Linked DNA regions of Homo sapiens: regions 1, 2 and 4 are each linked to region 3. Evidence: promoter capture Hi-C in 16 types of primary human blood cells and fetal thymus (Javierre and others, 2016). All regions are on one chromosome and are shown on one strand. Each heading gives the region's core, a stretch centred on a gene start or on the middle of the fragment in contact. The rest is flanking DNA. Distances are from core to core; before and after follow the strand shown. Region 1 overlaps DCLRE1C (DNA cross-link repair 1C). Region 2 overlaps SUV39H2 (SUV39H2 histone lysine methyltransferase). Region 3 holds the start of ACBD7 (acyl-CoA binding domain containing 7). Region 4 overlaps HSPA14 (heat shock protein family A (Hsp70) member 14).

Evidence for each region. Contacts are between HindIII fragments. The CHiCAGO score rates a contact against its expected background, and 5 or more counts as called.
Region 1: a contact is called between a fragment that was not itself captured here and the fragment with the promoter of ACBD7 in region 3, in 1 of 17 cell types (monocytes). The highest score is 5.4, in monocytes.
Region 2: a contact is called between a fragment that was not itself captured here and the fragment with the promoter of ACBD7 in region 3, in 2 of 17 cell types (neutrophils and monocytes). The highest score is 6.4, in neutrophils.
Region 4: a contact is called between a fragment that was not itself captured here and the fragment with the promoter of ACBD7 in region 3, in 1 of 17 cell types (neutrophils). The highest score is 5.5, in neutrophils.

The regions. Positions count from the first base shown.
Region 1 is chr10:14,909,718-14,912,417 of GRCh38, forward strand. All of the region lies in intron 13 of DCLRE1C (DNA cross-link repair 1C), which reads right to left. Among named protein-coding and RNA genes, the nearest start is that of SUV39H2, 32 kb to the left of the region's middle. The HindIII fragment of the contact is 4,483 bases long and covers 1-2,700 here.
Region 2 is chr10:14,888,943-14,891,642 of GRCh38, forward strand. All of the region lies in intron 2 of SUV39H2 (SUV39H2 histone lysine methyltransferase), which reads left to right. Among named protein-coding and RNA genes, the nearest start is that of SUV39H2, 11 kb to the left of the region's middle. The HindIII fragment of the contact is 6,653 bases long and covers 1-2,700 here.
Region 3 is chr10:15,087,490-15,090,189 of GRCh38, forward strand. ACBD7 (acyl-CoA binding domain containing 7) reads right to left here and starts at 1,287. Exons shown (of 4, transcript NM_001039844.3): 1 at 1,228-1,287. The coding sequence starts at 1,239. ACBD7-DCLRE1CP1 (ACBD7-DCLRE1CP1 readthrough) reads right to left here and starts at 1,287. Exons shown (of 8, transcript NR_144471.1): 1 at 1,228-1,287. RefSeq lists a silencer at 1,072-1,461. The HindIII fragment of the contact is 6,812 bases long and covers 1-2,700 here.
Region 4 is chr10:14,852,714-14,855,413 of GRCh38, forward strand. It overlaps HSPA14 (heat shock protein family A (Hsp70) member 14), which reads left to right. Exons shown (of 14, transcript NM_016299.4): 9 at 1,412-1,567. Among named protein-coding and RNA genes, the nearest start is that of MSANTD7, 16 kb to the left of the region's middle. The HindIII fragment of the contact is 3,163 bases long and covers 1-2,700 here.

The DNA.
Region 1 (2,700 bases), core at 199-2,698, 180 kb before region 3:
CAGGTTTGCAAAGCCTGTGTGCTCTGCAAATAGTAGATGCTCAGTGGGTTGGCTGACTTAGGAAAATTAAATTGCTTTTTATTAAGGTTTTTCTTCTGTGAGCATCTTATTGACATGTTTTATGCACAAGGTTGCAACAGGTTAAATCAACTTTAAAGCAAAATACTGAATAATCAACGTGTCAAGAACTTAAAATTCAAAACATTAATAAGCATGCTGTGTCAACAAATGTTCTTAAAATGAAAAAAGCCTTACTTAGAAAAACAAATATTTTCCCATCTTGTAACAGTATCTAACCTAGGAAGAAAGTTAAATGCACCCAAGACTACTGTGTATGGCAACTTCTTGTTCTACTGCTGAATCTGGTGTTATAATAATCCACTTAAATGATGTGGCTAAACACTGCATTTTTAAGACACTAATATAAAGGACCATAGAGACCATTATCCAGCTCCCATGTTCCCCGTGTGAAGCTAGGCCCAGAGAAAAGGGTGTGCCAATACACACGACCCAACCTCATTCTTAAAGGTTCAGTGTTATGACTTGTAACTGAACTTAGGGCTTAAGGTCACTAAGATATCTAACGACTGTATTTGGAATCATCCTAGACTGCAGAATGTAGATTTTAAGCCAAAGATCATATGTATGTTTTAGGTCCCTCACTACTATGCCAAAGTTGTTTTTTGAGTTTTATACAGTCACAGTTCAGCCTCTACCTCTCAGGCTCAGGAGATCCACCCCCATGCCCAGCTAATTTTTTTTAGACAGTGTTTCCCCTTGTTGCCCAGGTTGGTTTTGAACTCCTGCACTCAGGCAATCCACCCCCTCGGCCTCCCAAATTGCTGGAATTAGAGGCATGAGCCACTTTGCCTAGCCCAAAATTACCTTTTTATGAAATATTTTTGTATGATCTCTAAGTTGAACAGTTCTGCATTCCAAATCAGTGACTATGCCTGATCCCAAAAGACATTTATCAAAAAGGAGTGTGGATTGGGTAGATGCATAAAAGGCACAAAAGATTAAAGGAAGAAAGGACTTTTGCTTCCAGGTAAGATGGAGTAACGGACTAGATTTAACCTCCCACTTGAAATAACGAAAAATCAGAAACTATCTCTCAAGAAAATGGACATCGAGCAATTAAGGACAATGACATGAGAAATAAGACACAGATGAGTCCTATGATTGCCTGACTCCCTGCTTCATAACAGATTCCAGTCAGGGAGGGAACATCTGGATAGAGCCCATGGACATCCTTGATGTGAGGTGGAAGTGGAACATTGAAGAAATAAATGTACCTGGAGTTTACAGAGCAGAAGACCAGAGAGGAGAGTGCTGCACAGAAACTCTGAAAAGCTGCAGAGGCGTCCCCACCACGTGTTCAGTGCACTAAGCAGCATGTGCTTGTAAGGAAACTACCTGCAGCCAGGCAACGAATCACTCAAACAAAAGGAAAGAAAGTGCCCAGAACTCACCGTGCCAGGAACAGTGTCTTGTCCTGGTCCCAACAGCCAGAGTGGAAAACCTCATGATCCATGGGCATTTGTAAAAGAACCAAGAAGAGCCTTGCCTCAGTAGTGGGGAAAATTAACCATATACTAAATGCTACTCTGTTCCTGCATAACAAAGGTAAAAGACACGAAAAGATCAAACTATAAACATGCTAACCACATGCCAGAACAAAGCTCAAGAATGTTTTTAGAAATCCCAAAATTATGCAGGACCTAAAAAGGTAAAATTCAGAATGTATGGCATTCAAAAACAAATTATCAGAAATTCAAGAAGCAGGAAGATACAGTCAAAACTGACTGTAAAATTATGTAACATGGGAGTCAATTTTCATGATCTTGGATCAAATAGTTTCTTAGATATGACACCAAAGCATATGCAATAAAAGAAAAAAATAGACAAATTTAACTTAAAACCTTTACGCTTCAAGACACCATCAAGAAGGTGAAAAGACAAGTCTGAGAAAATATTTCCTAATCATGTCAGATAAAGGACTGATACCAGACTTTAACTCTTACAACTCAATACAAAGGTCAATAATCCAGTTGAAATGGGGGCAAAAGATCAGAATAGACATTTCACTGAAGAAGTTACATAAATGGCCAATAAGCACATGAAAGAAAGCTCAACATTAGTCATTAGAGAAATGCAAATCAAAACTGCAGGGTACCACCATACACTAGGATGGCTATACTAAAAAAGACGGAAGTGTTGGCTAATATGTGAAGGAACTGGAATCTTTACATATTGCCGGAGAGAATGTAAAATGTATTCAGTGTGGGAATGTTTGGCAGTTCCTTGGAGTGTTAAAACAGATTGACCATATGTTATGAACTGAACGCTTCCTGTCAAAATTCATATGTGGAAGCCCTAAAGCCAGTGTGGCTGTTATCTAGAGATGGACCTCTAGGGAAATAATTAAACCATCATAAGGCTGGAGACTTGATCTGCCTAAGTGCTAGAATTACAGGCTTGAGCCACTGTGCCCAGCCTAATTTTTACTTTTTTTTTAAGCAGAGACAAGTTTTCACCATGTTGGCCAGGTTGGTCTTGAACTCCTGATCTCAGGTGATCCATCCGCCTCGGCCTCCCAAAGTGCTGGGATTATAGGCGTGAGCCACTATGCCTGGCCTCCTGTTTAAGCTACCTAGTATGTGTTATTTTCTTAGGGCAGCCCAAGCCAACTATATGACT
Region 2 (2,700 bases), core at 11-2,510, 200 kb before region 3:
AAAATACAAAATTAGCCGGGCGTGGTGGCACATTCGTGTCATCCCAGCTACTTGAGAGGCTGAGGCAGGAGAATAGCTTGAATCCAGGAGGCAGAGGTTGCAGTGAGCTGAGATCGTGCCATTGCACTCCAGCCTGGGCTACAAGAGTGAAACTCTGTCTCAAAAAAAAAAAAAAAATTAACCGGAGGTAAGAAAGTAGAGTCAAGTAGTATGGACAATTCTTCCATGAATCCTAGCTTTCAAGAAAACGAGAGGGCTACATGGGTATAAGGGTGTTTATAATTTTTTTCAAGTTTTTTTGAAAAGACCATTGTGATAGTAATTTTTTTTTAATTTTGAGGAGGTATTATGCATGTAGTTTTAGAAAATGAATGTTATAAAAGGTCAGATACTGACATCTACCCCATGACCTAGTTTCAGTCTCTGTCTTAGCAACTTAATATGTCTTTTAGAGATTCCCTACATATACAAAAGTTTATATCTCAGAGGAGGTTTAGTTTTATTTTGCTTTTTAAAAATGGAGCCTGTTTAAATGCTAGTGAGAACCAGCAGAGGGAGATACTGAAGAGACAAGAAGAATTGACCGAGGAAGTGCGTCTCTCTTTTCATGTCTGCATCCACCTTATCTCTAGCTCCATGGCCATGGAAGGCTGGCAGTTAAGGCAGTTAATGCCTGGTGGTTTCCATTTTCTCTTTGCATTAGTAACAAAGGTCATACATCACTGAAAATAACACAGGAGGTAGGGGTGGGAACCTTGAGCAAAGTGGAGGAGGTCTAAAATAGCCAACTTGAGAAATGGAAAAAATTCTGTGGGGGCAGGAAAAAGGGTTGTTACTATTATGAATTCATGTGAAGGGTCAAGTTGAACTTAAAGGGTGTTAATTGTAGTAGTATTGAGTCTCAATGCAAGGTGATTTTTCTGCAGCATTATTGTTGCTACATCACCCCTTCATACAGAATAATTTCTGACAAAACTATGGGTATTTAAGATAGTTCAGTTAAGAACAAGATCCTCTGTACACATTGATGGACATGCACATAGCTTAGTAAGCTGAGCAACAAATATTGCCTATAGCTTTGGTTTCTTAAAGTATACAGGTACTTTTGTGTTTCGAGAACCACCTCTATATGGCGTGGCACAAATTAATGATAGTCCACATCTGACAATATAGTGATATTCCTGAAACACTGATTGAACCTAGAGTGGTTAAGAACTAGAATAACAGAAATCATTATACTACAACCTGTATTTGAGAGATCAGGAAATTACAGCTCTAAGAAAATACTTTAACAATCAATGTCATGTGGCTCACTTTTTTCAATTCTGGGTGTCTAACCCAGCTATCACAATTCCTACTCTTACTGGCATGAAAATTCAGTGATTTTTCCATTGACTATAATAGTTCTCAGACTATGCTCCCATGGAACCACTGGTGTTTTCATAATCAAATTCCAGTTATTTATTTAGAGACAGGGTCTCACTCTGTTGCCCAAGCTGGAGTGCAGTAGCCTGATCTTGGCTCACTGCAGCCTTGACATCCCAGGCTCAAACGATCCTCGCATCTCCGCCTCTTGAGTAGCTAAGACCACAGGCATGTGCCACCACATGCTGCTAATTTGTAGAGACAAGGTCTCACTATATTGTCCAGGCTGGTCTCCAACTCCTGGGCTCAAGCAATCCTCCTGCCTCAGCCTCCCAAAGTGAGCCACTGTGCCCAGCCAGATGCAGGTTATTTTAACACTGATATTGAATATGATGATTATTTCAAAATTGGCAGAAAAAATTACCTAGTGGAAAGACAAAATTTTTTTGTACTTTGTCTTCTCATATGTTTCTTTTAAAGTTTTGGTGTTTGCTGCCACTTGTTGGCTATAGACAGCAGGTGACAAATATTGAGAAACCGTGAATTGCTACCTCCAAGTTTATCAGCTTGTATTTCCTTTAAGAACTCATACAGTTATTGTTGTGATTTGTATATTACATACCTTTTGGTACTCCTATTTTTTTGTTATACATTCAGAAACATTTAGTCACAGCCTAAGATATGGTGGGCAGTTGTGCTCATTTGGGGGCTATAAAAAATAAGATTCCATCCCTTCCCGCAAATAACTTAGAGTTTAAATTGGAAATTGGAACAAAAAGGAGTTGATGGTGATCAGTTCTTCTTGGGTATGAGAGACAGGAAAGACTTCATAGAAGAGGTGATATTTACACCGTTTTAAAAGATGAGATGAGCATTCATTGGACCAGTGGGAAAGGCCCTCCTAATTAGGGAGAACTTTGTGAACAAAGCAGCAGGGGCATCAAAAGGCCTGGCAAGTTGTTCATTGTGGCCAGTGTGTGTTGTGTGAATGGGGCCATGATGGAAGATGGAGCCAGAGAGGCATCAGGGAACAGTTCCAGAGTGGCTTGCTTTCTGAAAAGAGGAACTTTGAACTTTGTTCCCTAGGCAGGGTGGAAACCATTAACAGTTTTTAAGCAAAATAACAACAGGATAACTGGTTTTGTGGATTTTTTGTTTTTACAAAAAAAACTCCATAGTAAAGAAGGATAGAGTGTTTGAAGCTGTAAGTCTGGAGTAGGGAAACTAGTTGGAAGATTAATGTTTAAGAATGCAGGCAAGAATTGTGGGCCTGAAGTAACTAACCCTATAGAAATAGAGATGGACAGGAAGAAGTCCATCTCTAAAGAAACTTAG
Region 3 (2,700 bases), core at 37-2,536:
TTAGAGGCCGGGCGTGGTGGCTCACGCCTGAAATCCCAGCACTTTGGGTGTCCAAGGCGGGTGGATCACTTGAGGTCAGGAGTTGGAGACCAGTCTGGCCAACACAGCGAAACCCCATCTCCACTAAAAATAGAGAAAAATAGCCAGGAGTGGCGGCGCACGCCTATAATCCCAGCTATTTGGGAGGCTGAGATAGGAGAATCACTTGAACTTGGGAGGCGGAGGTTGCGGTGAGCTGAGATTGCACCACTGCACTCCAGCCTGGGTGACAGAGTGAGACTCCATCTCAAACAGCCTGGGTGACAGAATGAGACTCCATCTTAAAAAAAAAAAAAAAAAATTACAAAAATCAGCCGGGCGTGGTGGCGTGCACCTGTAACCCCAGCTACTGCGGAGGCTGAGACATGAGAATCGCTTACACCTGGGAGGTGGAGGTTGCAGTGAGCAGAGGTTGCAGTGAGCAGAGATCGCACCAACTGCGCCTCAACCTGGGCAACAGAATGAGACTCTGTCTCAAAAAAGAAAAATAAAATTACATTTTAGAATATTTAATAATGAGAAAATGCTCATATTACTGTTTTACGTGTAGGAATAAAACTATATACACAATAACATCATAGGTATGTGTGTAGATATATGCCACACACATACACACATGGAAAATAACATACTAGGACATACTAGGAATTACCCTAGCATGTAGCAGTGATTATCACCTGGGTGAAGGAATTATCATTGGATTATTATCAGTAATTATTACTTTATATTTGTTGTCTTTTCCAAAGTTTTCCACCCTTAACAATTTTTTTCACATACCTATAAAACAGTATTTTTAAATTGGAGCCTCACAGATCTCTTCTGCTCAGTATGACACTAAGAGAGGTCCTGGAGGTCCCAACGAGCGAAGGGGCGGGAGCGGGGGATCTCGACTCCCTCTCGGAGACGGAGAGGAGGAGGCCCGCTCCGTGCTCCCCGGCGCTCCTGCCTTGCCTGCTTTTCCGCTCACCCGGCCCCTGGGGTCCGGAAGGGTTGCCCTGGGAGCCCTGGCTCGCCGTCAGCAGGCACAGGTGCGGTCTACACTGCCATCTGGGGCGCTGGGGAAGGAGTGGGCGTGTCCCCCGGGTCACCGCCGACCGCTCCCAGGGGCGCCAAGCCCACCCGGAGCCCCACTTAAGCACTCCCCTCGCGGAGCGCCCCTCCCGCGTGGCCTCCCCGCGCCCCGGGTACCTGCAGGGCCATGGTGGCGGCTGCCGCGTTGTTGCTGCTGCTGTTGTCGTCCGGTGCTCTGCCCCCTCTCGCACCCACCGCTTCTTAAACGGCCGCGTCTCCTCCGGCCGCTGCCATTGGCCGCGCTCCCGGCCCGGCCGCCTCCCATTGGTCGCGGGCGCGGGGGCGAGGCTGGGCGGTGAGCGGTACTGCACGCCGGGTTCCCCAGGCTGCAAATGGAAAGGCGAAGACAGGAGAATTTAAATGAGTTTCTCTCCGCTCTTGGCTCTCTCTTCTATTCTTTCTCAAGCGGTTCTTTGCAGGAAACCCAGAGAGGTCTCCGTAGGGCACAGGCCTCCCCTGGAATGCCTTCGAAAGAAAGAAAGAAGGAGAGAGACAGAGAGAGAGAGAGAGAGAGAAAAAATATATATATATATAGAGAGAGAGATATATATTTATCTAGAGAGACCCGCCCCAACTCTCTTAAAATACATATGTAATTTTTTCAATTTAAAAAAATTTATACATGTAAATATGTATTGGCCGGGCGCGGTGCCTCACGCCTGTAATCCCAACACTTTGGGAGGCTGAGGCCGGCAGATCACCTGAGGTCGGGAGTTCGAGACCAGCCTGACCAACATGGAGAAACCCTGTCTCTACTAAAAATACAAAATTAGCCGGGTGTGGTGGCGCATACCTGTAATCCCAGTTACTCGGGAGGCTGAGGCAGGAGAATCGCTTGAACCCGGGAGGTGGAGGCTGTGGTGAGCCAAGATTGCACCATTGCACTCCAGCCTGGGCAACAAGTGTGAAACTCCGTCTCAAAAAAAAAAAAGAATAAGTAAATATGTATTTAAAATTTTATAAATTAAAAATTTATATATATAAATTTTTTTCAGAGGTTGGGGTCTTCCTAGGTATATATATATTATATATTTTTTCTCTAAAAATTATATATAAATTTATATATATTTAAAATGTTAAAAATTAAAAATTTTATAAATTAAAAGTGCAAATTAAAAAATATATATATATGTGTTTTTTTTTTTTTTAAGAGAGGTGGTGGGGGGGGCGTCTCACTAGGTTGCCCAGGCTGGTCTCGAACTCCTGACCTCAAGCGATCCTCCCACCTCGGCTTCCCGAAGCACAGGATTCCTTCTTTATACATACTTCTCTCATGTCCATTATTCCTAGAAACGTGGATGATGGATGTGTCTCCTCCACGCTGCCTCCAGGCGCTGTTTATCATGAGAGAAAGTGGCCTGTGGTTTGCACCTCTTCTCTTTATAAAGCAAAACCACCTAAATTCTGGACACATGCTATAATCAGCTTAACTTGTTTTTAATTATGGTAAAGGCACAGGACTAAACGCCTATTCAATTTGACTCAGTTTTCTAGGGGAACAAACCCAATGTCACTCCAAGTCTGCAGACACACCGAATAGGATTACATTTCCAAAGGACTGGAACCGAATTGGGTGGTCACATGAGAAGC
Region 4 (2,700 bases), core at 5-2,504, 230 kb before region 3:
AGGCCAGGCTGCCTAGTGCAGTGTGCTTGGATTTTTCACTTAGTGTAAAGAGACCGTCAGATACTGAACTGCATGAACGTAGATTTTAATTCTTCATGTAGTGCTCTTCTGTCTGGTTAAAGGAGTGTATAGGCACTGAGGCTTCATTGCCTTCTGAACAGTTTTTAAAAGTTTGGCTCTGGTGAAGATTGCATTATGTTATCTTCATATTCCAGTGAGTTATTGTCTTATGGAATATTTATCTTAATTACTCATCTGCTGCTAGGAATATTTCAGTCTTGTTACTGGATATAATTACTCTAAAATTCTAACCCTTTTGGATGTTACAAAAGTCAGATATGTAAAGGTTATACTTTGGGTACTGCTGCTCTAAAAAAAAAAAAAAGTGTAATTGAAATGGTATTTTAGCCAGTTTGACTAACCTAATTGGTTGAAGAAGTCTTGAAAAAGTCATAATGTCTCACTTGTTTGATAAAGACCTATACTGCTTTTTGTTACAAAGATGTTGTTTAAATGAAGTCATTGATCACTACTTAGTAAGTAGTTTTAAACATGAACTCATATTGGAGATAGTGGAATGTAATTTTACATATTTTGTTGTATGTGTCAAATTTTTTTGAAGAAACACTTGTAGGTTGTTTTTTCTTTTTAATGCTTGACAAATAATTTTATGCCATTAAACAGTGATTGTGCTGTGATTATAAAGGGTAAAATAGGAGACTTTGACGCTCTTACATAAATCTCCTTATCTCCTTTAACCTCTGTGTCTCACCTGGAAAAGGGTGATATCTACTCTACTTTCTTCAGAGTACAGTCTATTATTACAATTATATAATGCAGCAGTTCATGGTTACATAATGTAGCAATTCAGAGTATTAAGGAAATTGGTAATTCATTTTTCTTGAGGTGACCCCTTTAATTGCACAGAGTGTTTTAGGAAAGTTTAGAGGGATTAGAAGAGAAATACTAAAATCCGGAATAAAATATTGTTTCACTAATTTATTTTATTTATTTATTTATTTTGAGACAGAGTTTTGCTCTTGTCGCCCAGGTTGGAGTGCAGTGGTGCAATCTCGGCTCACTGCAATCTCCACCTCCCAGGTTCAAGCGATTCTTCTGCCTCAGCCTCCCAAGTAGCTGGGATTACAGGCATGCACCACCACACCCAGCTAATTTTGTATTTTTAGTAGAGATGGGGTTTCACCATGTTGGCCCTGGTTGATCTTGAACTCCTGACCTCAGGTGATCTACCCATCTCAGCCTCCCAAAGTTGGGATTACACGCGTGAGCCACCGCACCCGGCCTGATTCACTAATTTATTATTGTTTTAATAAGGATTATCCAGATCTTAGTTACAATATTGTAAATGGCCCAGTAATTTTAAACCCCAAAGGCTATGTTTTTAATTTAGATCCTTCAAACATGATGTGAGAGGAAATGCGCGAGCCATGATGAAATTAACGAACAGTGCTGAAGTAGCGAAACATTCTTTGTCAACCTTGGGAAGTGCCAACTGTTTTCTTGACTCATTATATGAAGGTCAAGATTTTGATTGCAATGTGTCCAGGTAAAACTGAAGTTCAAAAAACTTTTTTAAAAAATTCCAAGAACATGTTTGTTTAGGTATAATTTTCTTACTTTGGGTTTTTTGTTTGTTTGTTTGAGATTTATCAACCATCTATAATGTCTTCACTTTATTGGGGTCCAGTTTTTGTCAGACTAAATAGCTGTTACCAGAGTAATTACATAAGTTGTGATTGCTTGCCCTGTTATTTTATGGCTACAATTAGGAGTGTGCAAAGGCATCCTAGAACCTTCAACCTAGATCCTACAAGTGATAAAGTACAAAGGGAGGACGTGCTGTAGTCTTTGTGTTGCATATTTGCTAATAATAATGATACGGCCTATTCAAACCTCTCAACAACATAATAGGTGACTTTGAAGCATAGTGAAAATTTCCAAGACTGCAGTATATATTTTTTTAGGATTCTAGTGACTGTATTTGGTTAAATTCTCTTTTCATCTGTTTAGTTTAGCTTCTTCACTTTCCCCGGGCCTTCATGAAGACTCTAGATCTGCACTGCCCAATAAAAGAGCCACTAGCCACCTGTGGCTGCTTAAATTTAACTTAATTAGGATAACATTAAAAATGCAGTTCCTCAGTAGCACTAGCTGCAGTTCAAATGTTCAGTAGTCATGTGGCTAGTGACTGGTAGAAAGTCCTGTTGGACAGCTATGCTCCAGATCTTTGAAGAAAGAGTTCAGGCTACAACTCAAAAGATAGAAAAGGCATTGCATTGAATTAGAATCTCTTTTTGGACAGAGTATGTGTATTTTTCTAGTTCCAGAATTCCTTAGGGTTAAGTTTGTCCAAGTCCTCGGTATATATTTGCTTTATTAATCAGTAATTAAGAAGGAAATGAAATTTATAATTTTTCATTAGGGAAATTTTGCCTTTGTCACAAAGATTTCAACCATAAAAGTATGCTTTAATATCTATAAGGTTTATAGATATTAATAGATAACATTATTTTTTAAGCCACTCATCTGCATTTAAGAAGTTCTGTATGAAGATTAGGGAGTACATTTTTCATGACCATAAATTTTTCTTAAAACTTTGTTATCTGCCAGCATTCAATTTCTCAGGGAGTACGGAGGGGCTAAACTTATGTCCAACATGGTCTCAAACTGTCAAGGAAA